Regions from separate parts of the Homo sapiens genome. Here regions 1 and 2 are each linked to region 3. Evidence: promoter capture Hi-C in human tissues and cell types (Jung and others, 2019). All regions are on one chromosome and are shown on one strand. Each heading gives the region's core, a stretch centred on a gene start or on the middle of the fragment in contact. The rest is flanking DNA. Distances are from core to core; before and after follow the strand shown. Region 1 holds the start of CYP2A7 (cytochrome P450 family 2 subfamily A member 7). Region 2 holds the start of SERTAD1 (SERTA domain containing 1). Region 3 has its middle 31 kb from the start of NUMBL.

Region 1 (4,821 bases), core at 1,796-4,295, 220 kb after region 3:
AGGCTGGATTGGAGCACACATCTAGGTGTTCAGATATTCAAGTGAAGTTGAGTTGGAAGACACCTGTCCAGGTGTTTAGCTCTTCAGGTGGGGCTGGTATGAGGTGAGTGTCACCTGTCTAGGTATTTAGGCATTCAAGTAGGCTTGGTTGGAGACAGCTGTCCAGATACTTACTGGGTCTGGATTGGGGGCTTTTGTTCAGGTGTTCAGGTATTAAAGTGGGGCTGGTGAAGATGTTGAAGTGCAGGGGATACCTGTTGAGGTGTTTACCTATCCAAGTGCGATGCACAGGGAGCACCTCTGTAAGGTGTGTGATTGGAAAGGGTTGGGGAACACTTATTTGTGTGTCAGGGAACAATCTGTCTAGATATTTGTGTGTTTAAGGTGTTGGTTAGGGCAGCTGTCCATGTTTTCAGGCATTTAAGTGGGTGAAGTAGAGGGCGCTTGGCCAGATATTCCAGTGGGCTAATCTGGGACATTTGTGTAGATGTGAAATGATTATGATGGGCTGGATTTTGCAGCACCAGGTGTTCAGGCATGCAGGAGGCGGGTTGACGCAGTCATTTGTCCAGGTGTTAAAATATTCAGAAGAACTGGGTAGGGAGCATCTGTTAGAAATTACGGTAAGTTGGGGATGGGAACACGTGCCCAGGTGAGAGAGCTGAGCTGAGGGTATGTATCCTACCAGCAGGCTCTGTTTTGGGGAGCATCTGTTGAGCTATCCAGGTGTCCTTGGAGACAGGCTTCTGGTGCAACTGTCCAGTTGTCCAATATCGGGGGCTGATTTTGAGGGGACACTGTCTGGAGCGGGGTGGGAGTTTGGGGCACCTGTCTCCAGGTAGGGGAGCAGTTGGCAGGTTGTGGTAGGGGCGTCACGGGCCGGGCTGCAGCCAGTTACCTGCCCCGTGGAGGTTGACGTGAACTGGAAGATTCCTAGCATCATGCTCAGCAGTGACAGGAACTCTTTGTCCTCATAGTCAAAGCGGTCCCCAAAGACAATGGAGCTGATGACATTGGAGACTGTGCGGCTCAGGAAGAAGGTGGGATCGATATTGGCGCCTGCGGGTGTGGAGGGAGAAGGGGGTTGGGGAGAGAGTCAACTCAGAGGTCTGAGGAGAATCAGAATTCCAGGAGGCAGGGCCTTGTTGAGCCAAATTCCCAGCGCCAGACTCCAGGGCTGGAAGTGCGGGCGCCTTTCCCCACCTAGTCCCCATCCGCAGGCAGAACGCGCGCGGGTTCCTCGTCCTGGGTGTTTTCCTTCTCCTGCCCCCGCACTCGGGGAACCTTACTCACCGTGCGTGCTCCGGATGGCCTCGATGAGGAAGCCCGACTCCTCCTGGATGCGCTCCTCGATGCCTCGCTTGCCCACCCCGAAGTCCCTCAGGGTGGCGATGGCAAAGCGCAGGAGCTGCTTGGCGCGCTCCCCGTTGCTGAACGCCACGCCTGGGGAGGTCAAGGCGGGGGTGGAGAGAGGTCAGGGGGCGGCGGTGGCAGGAGCGGACCAGTTCCAAGGGGCTCCCCAAGGGTGGAGCAGAGGGGTAGTGGGGTGGGAGAGAGATGGATTCAGTGCCAGTGCCCAGGACAGGTGCAAACTCAGTCAGAGAAACACGAGGGAGAGAGAGAGAGAGAGAGAGAGAGAGAGAGAGAGAGAGAGAGAGAGAGAGAGAGAGAGAGAGACCGGGTAGAAAGAATAAGAGAATCAGAAGAGAAACAGAAAGGCCAGATAGAGATGCGCAGAGAAACAGAGGGATAAGGGGATACTCCATGGAGGAAGGGTAGGAAGTGGGGAGAGAAAGAGAGAGATGGAGGAAGAGGATGGAGGGAGGGGAAGTGAGATATGGGGAGATCTGGGAGGAGGAAATAAAAATGGTGAAACATTCTTAAGCTGAGCTGGAGAAGAGAGAAAAATACTGAGACAGAAACAGAGAGGGTCTGGAAGGAAGAGAGACTGTTACCAGGAGATGGAGGCTGGAGATGTGGAAGTAAGAATAGCATGAAATCCTAAGGGAGAGGAAAAAGTGAGAGAGGGAAGTGGAGAGAGGAGAAACATGGAGAAGCACAGAAGCTGAGAGCAACAAAAAGACAAATGAAGACAGAGGACCAGGGCTGGAAAACAGAAACCCAGGATGTCCTCAGAGATGGAGAGAGAGGGGAAAGAGGAGACTCCAGTGAGAGAGAATAAGGAGGTGGGGCAGAGAGAGGCAGGGAGGAATCACGACAGGGACGCTGGAGACAGGTGAGGGATACACATGGAGAGGCCACAGTGAAGGGAGATGGGGAGATAAGACCAGACCGGGGGTTCTGCCATAGCCTCCAGTGGGCAGGAGAGTCAGGGAGAAGGCTGGCAACACTGAGACCATCGTGTCCGCCTGGCCACCTTCCCCATCTTGGGCACCCCCTCACCATAGCCTTTGAAGACCCAGTCGAAGGTGGCTTGCTCGCCTCGCCCGCTGAACTCCTCAGCCTGGTCCACCAGAGCCTCCCTGACGGCATCATGTCCACACAGCACCACGACCCGCCGGGGCCCCAAGTGAATGGTGAACACGGGGCCATAGCACTCACTGAACTGATGGAGGCGAGTGGGAGTGGTTAGAGGGAGCAGCCCCCACTCTGAATGGGGCCCAGCACCGAGATGTCAAGTACTGGGATCCTTCACCCCCAGGTTCTCACAGTCAGGGAGCTGGACATCCCAAGATCCTGTCTTTCCTGGCTAGGACCCGGATGCTGAAACTCCAAAACTCCCTTTCCTAAGACTCTGGTCCACACTGGTCAATCCCCTGCCACAAAGCCCCAGCCAACTAGGCAGCCCCCACCCTGTGCCACCCATCTTCCTGCCTTGGGACACCTTCATGATGGAGTCACATATGTGCTCTGTGTTCAGCTGGAGGTAGTTTCCAATGAAGGGCAGTGGGGTGGGTCCCGGAGGCAGCTTCCCCCTGCTCTTCCTCTGCTGCCAGACAGACATCAAGACCATCACAGTCAGGCAGGCCAGCAAGGCCACCAGAAGCAGCCCTGAGGCCAGCATGGTGGTAGTGAGATGACAGATGGTGATGGGTGGGGTGGTTTGCCTTTATACTGCCTGAAAAAGAGGGATGGACTTTGGCTAATTACATAATCACCTTATTTCACCTCCCAACTACACGCCCCACCATGAATGCCACCTAGCTTGGGACACAGCCAGCAAGGGAGGATAAGGGGACCCCAGGGCAGCTGAACAGAGAGGGGGCCTCCAGACTAAATCTGTGGTACTTCAGGAGGGGTGCCGCAGGGCTGTGGATTTAGGAGGGGGCAACCGATAAACTGTAGAACTGAAGAGTTTGGAATATTTGCATAGGGGAGCACTTGGGCTTTGGATTTGGGGTCTGAGAGTGAGAATGCACCCCAAAGTTGTGGATTTGGGCATTCCAAGGGAGAGGAATCCAAAGGTCTGGGTTTTATTAGGGTGAGATGGAAGTGTGGCTGTGCATCTGGAGGTCTTCTGTTGCGGAGGATGCAGGGTTAAGGGTCTCAGGAGGGGGGACTCCAGGCATATGGACTTGAAAGTCTCGGGGCTAGGAAGACCCAGGGCTGTGGGTGTGGAGTTTCTGGGAGGAGGAGTGTGTAGCAAGCCAGCAGGTGCTCCCAGAAAGCCCAGCAGCCCAGCAATGGGCCCAGGGGCTGACTTGATTTTGCTTTTGCCCAGAGCTATCTCTTGATGCCCAGAATCCTCATTGGAACCTCAGAGTGAGGCCAGGATGGGTGCCATGGAACCTCCACTGCCCATCTCTGGTTGGGAAAGGGGTGGAAGACCAGGGCCATATTTCAGGGGAACTTTCCCCACACCTGGAGAAGAGTACCTGGAGTTAGCGGTTGGCAGAGGGATTGGCTAGGTCTGGAGAAATAGTAATAACAACCCCCAAATGGTGGAAAAATCTCAAGTGTCCCAAGGGTTGTCCGCTGGTTTCCAACCCAGATCCTCAGGGAAACCCACTAGATTGATTGTATCATCCCTATTAATATTATGATTGTTGTTTATGTTTCTCATTTTATATAAAGATCTACAGAGGACAGAAAACAGACAGTGGGCAGGGGACATGTGTGAGTGGCCCTGAACTCCCATCTCTCCTGCTCTGTGTACTTAGTTCCCCTTTCTGGATTTGGTTTTCCTGCCAGTGGAAAGGGAGTGTTTGGGAAGAGAAGATCACATTTGAGGGTGAGTTAAGTCTCCTTTAAGGGCGATTCCTGCTTTGTCAGGGGCTACTACTATTAGCAGGCAGAGGGAACAGTCGCAGAAGAGATTGGGGTAAACTCCAGTGTTAGGCACAGAGGCAGATCCTGGGGTGGGTGTGAGTGGAGAAGGGATGAGTAGCCCTCCTGTCCTTCCTTCAGGGAAATTCTTCCTTAGTAAACAGGACAGTTACCCTTTGGTGAGCATGGTCATATATGGGAAGATTAAGTCTAGGTGTGTATGATCTGGTTGAATCTTTGTAACAGTGAGGTTGGTTCATCGTGATCATCCTCATTTTGAAGATGAGCAGATCTAGACTCCATAAACCCTCTTGAGTGAGGTCACACAGGGAGTAAGTGAGGGAGCTGGGATGTGAACTTTCTCCTCGCCCCCCTTCATTGACTGGCCTAGATCACCCTGGGAGTCAAGTGCGGGCCAGCCTTAGCAGGAGGTGAGTGCTGAGACTGGCATCAGCAGTGGACACACTGATGACATTGGCGGGTTCTGATATCAGCATCAGGTATGGCCAGGGAGGGAAAGGCATCGTGTTGGCTTTGGGACTGCCCCCAGGTGTATGCGAGGATGGGAAACAAGTTGGCACTGAACTTGACACC
Region 2 (4,728 bases), core at 1,991-4,490, 230 kb before region 3:
GAAGCCAGCTGTGTCTTTTCGAGGACAGTTGGTCCAGCCAGCAGGCTCAGTTCAGATACCAGACAACCATTCCAGCACGAGGGCTCAGCGCCCTGGCCCCGGCGGTCGCTCCAGTGCCTGTGTGCCCACCAGCACATCCATGAGGTAGTCCAATTCGGCCTCGTCCAGCTCCGGAGCTTCCTCCTTGCCCGGCCCATCCTCAGGGCCTGGTTTGAGGCCCTCAGAGGCTGGTGCCCAAAGTTCATTGTCATACATAGAGGTGTCAATATCCTCAAACAGGCCCTCAAGCCCATCGTCCAGTAGACAGCCAGTGGCTGGGCCCAGCAGGTCCAAGGCACCCAGGCTGGGCGCTGCTCCCCCGATGCTACGGCCTGGTGGCCCCTCGTCTGCCAAGGGTTGGGGAGCCTGACTCAGGCCCTCAATGTGGCTGAGGTCCTCCAGGAGGCTGGCCATGGAGGCTGAAAGGGCAGCGTCCGAGCTTGCCAGTAAGTTGTCAGCCACACTGGGGGCTGCAGGTGGGCTAGGCACAGGTGGCAGGGCAGCCGCGGGTGCCATGGACGCCTGGATGCGCCGCAGAGTGTTCACGACCAGCACCAGGTGCCGCAGGTCCGGCTCACTCTGCTGCAGGCTGTGGTGGAGCTTGAGCACTGAGAGGTCAAAGAGGGAGCTAGAGGCCACGGCCGGGGGTGCCTGTGCCACCGCTGTGTGGCCAGGATCTAGCCACCAGGAGTCGACTGCCAGAGGTTCCTTCTCCTCCTCCTCCTCCCGTTTCCGCTTCAGACCCTTGCTCAGCATCTGCAGAGGGCAGGGAGTTATGGAGTTATAGTCAGTTATAGAAAACAAATGTTAAGTTCAAAGCCTGGATCTGACAGTTGCTGCAGGTAGGATCTTGGGGAAGTCACTTAACCTCTCTGTGCCTAGCTTTTCTTAGGGAACTTTAAAGATATAGACAATTTTTATTTAACTGTATATGTATATTTATAGATTTTTTTTGAGATGGAGTCTCGCTCTGTTGCCCAGGCTGGAGTGTAATGCCGTGATCTCAGCTCATTGCAACCTCTGCCTCACAGGTTCAAATGATTCTCGTGCCTCAGCCTCCCCAAAAGCTAGGATTACAGGCACATGCCACCACACCCGGCTAATTTTTATATTTTTAGAAGAAGCATGGTTTCACCATGTTGGCCAGGCTGGTCTCGACCTCCTGGACCTCAAGTGATCCGCCCACCTCTGCCTCACAAAGTGCTGGGATTACATGCGTGAGCCACCGCGCCTGGCCTATAGACTTCTTAAATTTTAAATTTTATATTTAAGTATATTTATAGACTTTTTTATCTGAAAAAATAAAGATGGGGTCTCACTATATTGCCCAGGCTGGTCTCAAACTCCTGGCCTGAAGCGATCCTCCCCCCTCAGTCAATAAGTACTTTTTTTTTTCCCTTTTATTTTTTTGTAGAGACATGGTCTCACTATGTTGCCCAGGGTGGTCTCAAACTCCTTGCCTCAAGCCATCCTCCTTCCTCAGCCTCCCAAAGTACTGAGATTACAAGTGTGAGCTGCCTCACCCTGCCAATAAGTACACTTAATGATAACATTATTATTTCTTCAGTGAACCATGTGGAATGGCCAATATTCAACTTTTTCCCCTACAAAAGCAGCTGTTTCACATATTTTATTATAATAACATAATTATATCTAAATAAGTTATAATATTATAAATACTAAACTAGTTTCACGTAGTTTAATATTTATTGTCTACTATGACTATGTTTCAAACAGTAAATAAATAAGGAAACACAGGAAATGTACAGAGAATTACAGGAAGACACTAAAAGTTCCTAGAGACCTTTTAGATCATCAGAGAAGGCTCCTGTAAGGAGGTGACATTTGAATGGAGCCCTCAGGCCAGAGAAGTCAGCCATGGGAGACCCTGGGAAAAGCATTCCGGGAGGAGGGAACAACAAAAAAAGGCAGAGAAAAGCCCAGAGGCTGGATGGGCTTGAACTGGAAAGAGACCAGCATGGGTGGCACACAGAGAGTGACATGGTAGGAGACCAGATTGGGGAGCAGCTAGGGGAACGGGCACAAGCCAGGTCACAGAAAGCCACATATGCAGAAGTAGGGAGTTTGGATTTTATCCTGAGTGTGGTGGGCAGTCATTAAAGGAATTTGAGCAGGGAGGGAATGGTGCTGTGAGCTGATTAGGTTTCCGGAAGATCCCCCCCATGGCTGCTTCGAGGAAGACTGTGGGGGGCAAAAAGAGGGGGGATCTGAGACCCACTGGTAGGCTGTACTCGTTTGGGACGGACGATGGTGATGGCCTGGAGTAGGAGCTGGTAGTGGCATGGAAGGAAGTCGGTCGAGTCAGGACTTATTTGGGAGGCAGAATAGACAGGGCTTGTCGGGAAATCGTGATCGGCACCGGGTTCAGTCACTGAGATAAGTTTGAGGGTCCACTGTTCTTGGAGTGGCGGGGGTAGGGCTGGAGTTTTGGACTCCTGGCGCTACCTACTTTTTTGGGCCAGGAAGACTGTAGAGTCCAGTTTCGGAACCCTGCCTAGCAAGATTTTAAGAATGGCCCACCACACTACTCAAAACAGGGTCTTCGTCCCCTTCCCCGCAGTCCGGGGAGTCCGGAACCGCAGGAATTCCGCCCCCACCCCCGACTCCGCCCCCGGGTCCCGGCGCCCCCTAGCGGTGCCCAGGCCGGCTTTCCCCCGGGGATTCTGGCCCCTCTGACCCCAGGACCCCTTCTACTGCCCCGATTCCCGGCTGTGATTCCTGCCGGCCTCCCGGCGCCGTGCGAGCCGGGACCCCTGGCGGGCTGTTCTCTGCGCCCGGCCTCCGCTCGCTTCCGGCAGTGGAGGCGGCTCCTCCCGAAGCGGCGGCGGCGGGGGCGGGTGAGTCACGCAGCCGGAGCCAAGAAGCCGGCGCCTCCGCCCCCTTCTCGGACTGCGGCGTGATTCACCCGGCCCGGCCGGGGCAGACAGCACGTAGAGGTCCGTGCGTCTCGATCCCGGGCAGCCCCGGCGGGCACCTGTCGGACCCAGGGATCGAACTCTGTGAAGGACCCGGCCGCTGGTAGCCCTTCTGTTCCCAGGCCCCTTCATTTACATACCTTGCTCACTAGCGGCCAATCAGAACGAAGAGGTAGCCACCCACAACCAATCAGGAAACGGCGGCGGCAGCATCGCTTGTTGGCTGTCCTCCGGAAACCCGCGCCTGGGTCGCGAGACGCAGTTCTGACTCCGGCTCACGACTCCAGACTCCTAACTACCCTTAGCGACCGCCCACTCTCGTGGCTGCCCCGCCCTCCGCCCCAGGGATTGGCCCTGCATGGTGATGGGCGGAGCTTGTAGGGGGCGGATTCTGAAGGAGGGGCTTCAGGGCGCATGCCCGGGCAGCTGCGCGAGTGAGGGGTGGAAAGAGGTGGCTTTTTACTCCGGGGAACGGTGGCGAGTGGGGGCTTTTGCCTCTCAAAATACGAGCCCCTCACAACTACCCATGCACCTGCCAAACCCGGCAATTAAGCTTCTTACACATCCAGCCCCGACAGGGGTCTACACTACAGATAATGCCCGGGTTCAAATTCCGACTCCGGATTCCCCACTCACTGGATGCGTGACCTTGGAAAAATGATCAACCTCTTCAAGCTACACAAAGTTAAATGGGGATCGTCTTGCCTACCTCTTGACAGGATACTTTAAGTAGGATCGTATCTATAAGAACACAATACCACACTCAAGCAATGCTGGACAGTTGGACTTAATTGTGGTTAAAGGCGGGAGTGAGGTGGGAGTGCGATACCAACGGAATCACATCCCGGGCTCCATTCCCTAAGCAGCTGTGTGACCTGCGGCAAGTGTTTTAATCCCTTCTGGTCTGTTTCTCCTTTAAAATGAGAGAAAATAGCGCCTAGTTTACAGGATTGTTTTTAAGGATTAAATTAATTCATGAAAAATCTTCAGAGTGGGGTGCAACATGTTTTGTGTTTTTTTTTTTTTTTTCATTTTATTTATTTATTTATTTATTTATTTGAGACAGATTCTCACTCCGTCGCCCAGGCTGGAGTGCAGGGGCACGATCTCGGTTCACTGTAACCTCCGCCTCCCAGGTTCAAGCAATTATCCTGCCTCAGCCTCCCGAGTAGCTGGGACTACAGGCGTGCGCCACCACGCCCGGTTAATTTTTGTATTTTTAGTAGAGATGGGGTTTCACCATGTTAGCCAGGCAGGTCTCAAACTCCTCACCTCAGGTGATCCGCCCTCCTCGGCCCCTGAGTGTTGGGATTACAGGCGTGAGCTACCGCGCCCAGCTGCTTATTATTTTTTTCTTTACTTTTTATTTTATTTTATTTTGCTTTTGAGACAGGGTCTCGCTCTGTCACCCAGGCTGAAGTGCAGGGGTGCCATCTCGGCTCACTGCAGCCTCCCAGGTTCAAGCCATCCTCCTGCCTCAGACCCCCAAGCAGCTGGGACTACAGGCGCACACCACCATGCCTGGTTAGCAACGTTGTTTCTTTGTTAGTAGTAATAGCTGTTGTAATAAGACAAGCTCTTAGTTCAAGGTGGATAGACATGCAGGATGGGGCTAGAGGTAGACAGGGTATAATACTCCTCCCATGGCCGGATGCAGTGGCTCACGCCTGAATACTCTCTCACCTAGATTTAATTGATAGTTGTTAGCTAGGCAACAACTGTAATCCAGTACTTTGGGAGGCCAAGGCAGGAG
Region 3 (4,921 bases), core at 1,833-4,332:
CCTGGCCTTTTGTGTTTTTGTTTTTGTTTTGGTTTGTGTGTGTGTGTTTGTTTGTTTGTTTTTGAGATGGGGTTTCACTCTGTTGCCCAGGCTGGAGTGCAGTGGTGTGATCACAGCTCACTACAGCCTCAACCTGCTAGGCTCAAGCGATCCTCCCTTCTAAGCCTCTTGAGTAGCTGAGACTGCAGGTGCCCACCACCACACCCAGCTAATTTTTGTATTTTTTGTAGAGACGGGTTTTCACCATGTTGCCCAGGCTGTTCTCAAACTCCTGGGCTCAAGTGATTCCCCCCACCTTGGCCTCCCAAAGTGCTTGGATTACAAACGTGAGCCACTGTGCTGGGCCTATTTCTTTGTGTTTTAAGAGGCAGGGTCTTTCTCTGTTGCCCAGGTGGAGTACGATGATTCGATCATAGCTCACTGCAGCCTCAAACTCCTAGGCACGGGAGACCCTCCTGCATCAGCCTCCCGAGTAGCCCAGACTACAGGTGTGTGCCACTATACCTAGCTAATGAAAAGAATTTTTTTGTAGACATGAGTTCTTGCTATGTTGTCTAGGCTGGTCTGGAACCTCCAGCCTCAGGCGATCCCCTTGCTTCAGTCTTCCAAAGCAGTGGGGTTACAGGCGTGAACCACCTGGCCTGGTCTCGCTCTTTCTCTTTCGACATCTACATTGATCTGTAGCTATCTACGTACTATAGATATCTAAAAGTTATGTAAATGTCTACTTAAGCTTATAGGTATGAGCTACTGTATGCTATCTAAGCTTATAGGTATGAGCTACAAATTGCTATTGTGTTATGAGGGGAATTCAAAAAGTTGATGGAGAATGGAATTAAGAGATAAAAATTTTAAAAAAATCTTTATTTCTCACCATAAACTCCATCAAGGTCAAAGTCAAGACACTTTTGTAAACCATTATACCAGCCATTTAGTCTATCCCTAAATAACTGAGGGTCCCAGGAATTTAATCATGTCAGTGCAGCCTTTTTACATTTTCTCTTTCTTTTTTTTTTTGATGGAATCTCACTCTGTTGCTCAGGCTGGAGTGCAGTGGTATGATCTCGGCTCACTGCAACCTCTGCCTCCCGGGTTCAAGCCATTCTCCTGCCTCAGCCTCCTGAGTAGCTGGGACTACAGGCATGTACCACCACATCTGGCTAATTTTTTTTTTTTTAGTAGAGACGAGGTTTTGCCAAGTTGGCCGGGCTGGTCTCAAACTCCTAACTTCAGGTGATCTGCCCGCCTCGGCCTCCCAAAGTGCTAGCATTACAGTTGTGAGCCACTGTGCCAGGCCTTTTTTTTTTGTTCTTGTTGCCCAGGCTGGAGTGCAGTGGCATGATCTCGGCTCACTGCAACCTCCACCTCCTGGGTTCAAGTGATTCTCCTGCCTCAGCCTCCCGACTAGCTGGGATTACAGTCATGAGCCACCACACCTGGCTAATTTTTGTATTTTTTTTTTTAGTAGAGACAGGGTTTTGCCATGTTGGTCAGGCTGGTCTTGAACTCCCAACCTCAGGTGATCCACCCTCCTTGGCCTCCCAAAATGCTAAGATTACAGGCGTGAGCCACTCCGCCCAGCCCAGTCTTTTTACATTCTTAACTGAAGAAAAATGGGTGCCCTTCAAAGATTTTAAGATTAGGAAACAAAAAGTCAGAAGGAGCCAAATTGGGACTGCCAAGTGGATGCCTAATAATTTCCCATCAAAACTTGTAAAATTGCTCGTTTGATGAGGAGAATGAGCAGAAGCGTAGACATGCTGGAGAAGAACTCTCTGGTGAAGCTTCCCAGGCTTATTTCTACTAAAGCTTCGGCTAACTTTCTCAAAACACTCTCATAATAAGCAGATCTTATTATTCTTTGACCCTACAGAAAGTCAACCAGCAAAATGCCTTGAGCATCCCCAAAAACTGTTGCTATGACCTTTGCTCTTGACCAGTGTGCTTCTGCCTTGACTGGATCACTTCCCCGCTCTTGGCAATCATTCTCTGATTACGATTTGTCTTTAGGATTGCACCCGTGAAACCATGTATCATTTCCCGTTACAATCCTTCAAGGAAATGCATTAGGATCTCGATCTCACTTGTTTAGCATGTCCATGGAAAGCTCTGCTCTTCTCTGCAGCTGATCTGGGTGCGACCGTTCTGGCACCCATCGAGTGGAAAGTTTGTTTAGCTTTAATTTCAGTCAGAATTGTGTAAGCTGAGGCCGGGTGAGGTGGCTCAAGCCTGTAATCCCAGCAGTTCGGGAGAATGAGGCAGGAGGATCACTTGTGTCCAGGAGTTCAAGACCAGCCTGGGAAACCTAATGAGACCCCCATCTCTACAAAAAATACGAAAATTTAGTGTCAGGCCTCTGAGCCCAAGCTAAGCCATCATATCGCCTGTGACCTGCACGTATACATCCAGGTGGCCTGAAGCAACTGAAGAGCCACAAAAGAAGTGAAAATAGCCTTAACTGATGACATTCCACCATTGTGATTTGTTTCTGCCCCACCCTAATGATCAATGTACTTTGTAATCTCCCCCACCCTTAAGAAGTTTCTTTGTAATTCTTCCCATCCTTGAGAATGAACTTTGTGAGATCCGCCCCCTGCCCGCAAAACATTGCTCCAAACTCCACCGCCTATCCCAAAACCTATAAGAATTAATCATAATCCCACCACCCTTTGCTGACTCTCTTTTTGGACTCAGCCTGCCTGCACCCAGGTGAAATAAACAGCCTTGTTGCTCACACAAAGCCTGTTTGGTGGTCTCTTCACAGGGACGCGTGTGACACTTAGCTGAACGTGCTGGCACGCACCTGTAGTTCCAACTACTTCGGAGGCTGAGGTGGAAGGATCGCTTGAGCCCAGGAGGTTGAGGCTGCAGTGAGCCACAATCTCACCACTGTACTCAGCCTGGGCGACAGTATGAGAACCCTGTCTCAAAAAAAAAAAAAAAAAAAAAGAAAAAAGAATTGTGTAAGCTGTACCAATTGAGATGTCTATGGTGTTGGCTATTGTTTCTGCTGTTAACTGTAAGTCCTCTTTAATTAAGGCATAAACAAATTTAATTTTTTTCTGCAAAAATTGATGTGGATGGTATGCCACGGTGGGCTTCATCTTCAGCATGACCCAGGCTGGAGTGCAGTGGCGCAATCACGGCTCACTGCAACCTCTACCTCCCAGACTCAAGTGATCCTCCCACCTCAGCCTCCTGAGTAGCTGGAACTACAAGTGTGCACCACCACACCCAGCTAATTTATGTATTTTTTGTACGGATGGGGTTTCACCATGTTACCCAGGCTGGTCTCGAATTCCTGAGCTCCAATGATCCGCTGGCCTCAGCCTCCCAAAGTATTGGGATTACAGGCGTGAACCACCACGCCCGAACTTGTCCCTTCTTAAAACGAGTTATCCATTTGTAAATGGCTGATTTCTCTGGGGCACTGTCAAGTTTTTGGAAAACATCAATGATTTCATCATTCTTCCACCCAAGCTTCACCATCAATTTGATGCTTGTTCTTGCTTCAATTTTAGAATTCGTGTTGCTCTGATAGGGGCTCTTTTCAATCTGATGTTTTATTTTAGTGTCTCAAACTAGGTCCTGTTCAGACAAGTTATAACAAGTTAGTATGAATTTATTTTGGTGCAAAAAAAAAAAATTGAACTCCATGCATAGTTTTTTCATAATACACATTTTCCATGAATTTTTGGAAGACCCTTCTTTTTCTCTCTTTTTTTTTTTTTTTTTTTTTTCTGTAGAGATGGTCTTGTTCTGTCACCCAGGCTGGAGTGCAGTGGCACAATCATGGCTCACTGCAGCCTCGACCTCCTGGGCTCAAGCAATCCTCCCACCTCAGCTTCCTGTTACTGGGACTATAGGTGTGCACCACCACACCTTGATAATTAAAAAAAAAAATTTTTTTGTAGAGATCGGGGTGGGGGGGGGGGTCTCACTATATTTTCCAGGCTGGTCTTGAACTCCTGGCCTCAAGTGACCCTCCCCAATCAGCCTCCCAAAGTGCTGGGATTACAGGCACAAGCCACAGTGCCTGGCCAATAAATGTTTTTTGAATGAATGAAGAAATTAGTGCATGGACATATTTTCCCATCAGCTATTACAATAACCAGACTCTGAGTTCCCTGAAGGCAGGGCCTGTGAGTTTCATTGTGTACCCTCAGCCCTCAATAGCTGATAAAAATAAATATTCAGAAAATGCTTGTAAAATGAAGAAGAGAATATGTATGGGACAGAAAGTAGACCAGTGGTTGCCTGGGGCTGGGACAGGGAATAGGGAGCGACTGCAAATGGGCAGAAGGGATCTTTTCAGAGTGATGGAAATGTTCTTGAATTGGCTGTGATGGCTGCAGAACTGTAAAATCACCCAAAATCAGTAAATCACTTATAATAGGTGAATTTTATGACAGGTAGATTATACCTCAGTAAAGCTGTTAAAACAAAACCAGTGTTGAGGGAGGAAATAAATGTTACCTTGGTAATACTGAGGACTCAGTAGTTATCAAGACAGCTCTCTTCCCTGCCCTCATGAGGTTTTCTGTGCAGGGCGGGGACGCCGACCCATTATAGACAGTGACAGCCTAGAGCCATCACGGCGGGATGGTGGGGAGGGGACAGGCAGAGGGGTGGGAGGCCAGGATGGGGGAAGCCCGGGCAGAGAGGTTGGGCTGGAATGGGGGGCACAGGCAGAGGGGTCGGGGCGGGGACTGGTGAGGTGCAGGCAGAGGGCAAAGGGGTCGAGGTCCAGATGGGAGATGTACAGGCAGACGGATCCGGGCCAGGGCGGGGAGGTACAGGCCCAGTTGAGGAGCATAAGGAACCATAGGAGCCCAAAGGAGGCGCCCGACCAGTCAGGGAGGACTTCCCAGAGGGGTGAATGGCTGAGCCAGGGCCTGAAGTATAATGTTCATGAATGCGA

Evidence for each region. The method cuts DNA at HindIII sites, captures the fragments that hold promoters and counts their contacts. A contact is called where the count stands out against the background at its distance.
Region 1: the fragment with the promoter of CYP2A7 here is called in contact with a fragment that was not itself captured in region 3 in 3 of the 25 tissues and cell types used here (lymphoblastoid cells, small bowel and spleen).
Region 2: the fragment with the promoter of SERTAD1 here is called in contact with a fragment that was not itself captured in region 3 in 2 of the 25 tissues and cell types used here (IMR-90 fibroblasts and spleen).

Annotation. Positions count from the first base shown.
Region 1 is chr19:40,879,186-40,884,006 of GRCh38, forward strand. It overlaps CYP2A7 (cytochrome P450 family 2 subfamily A member 7), which reads right to left and starts at 3,046. Exons shown (of 9, transcript NM_000764.3): 1 at 2,846-3,046; 2 at 2,404-2,566; 3 at 1,294-1,443; 4 at 899-1,059. The coding sequence starts at 3,025. The HindIII fragment of the contact is 10,061 bases long and covers 1-4,821 here.
Region 2 is chr19:40,422,752-40,427,479 of GRCh38, forward strand. It overlaps SERTAD1 (SERTA domain containing 1), which reads right to left and starts at 3,241. Exons shown (of 2, transcript NM_013376.4): 1 at 3,116-3,241; 2 at 1-795. The coding sequence starts at 795. The coding sequence ends at 85. RefSeq lists an enhancer at 1,764-2,566 and a silencer at 2,609-2,698. The HindIII fragment of the contact is 15,089 bases long and covers 1-4,728 here.
Region 3 is chr19:40,657,627-40,662,547 of GRCh38, forward strand. No RefSeq gene overlaps it. Among named protein-coding and RNA genes, the nearest start is that of NUMBL, 31 kb to the right of the region's middle. The HindIII fragment of the contact is 4,666 bases long and covers 750-4,921 here.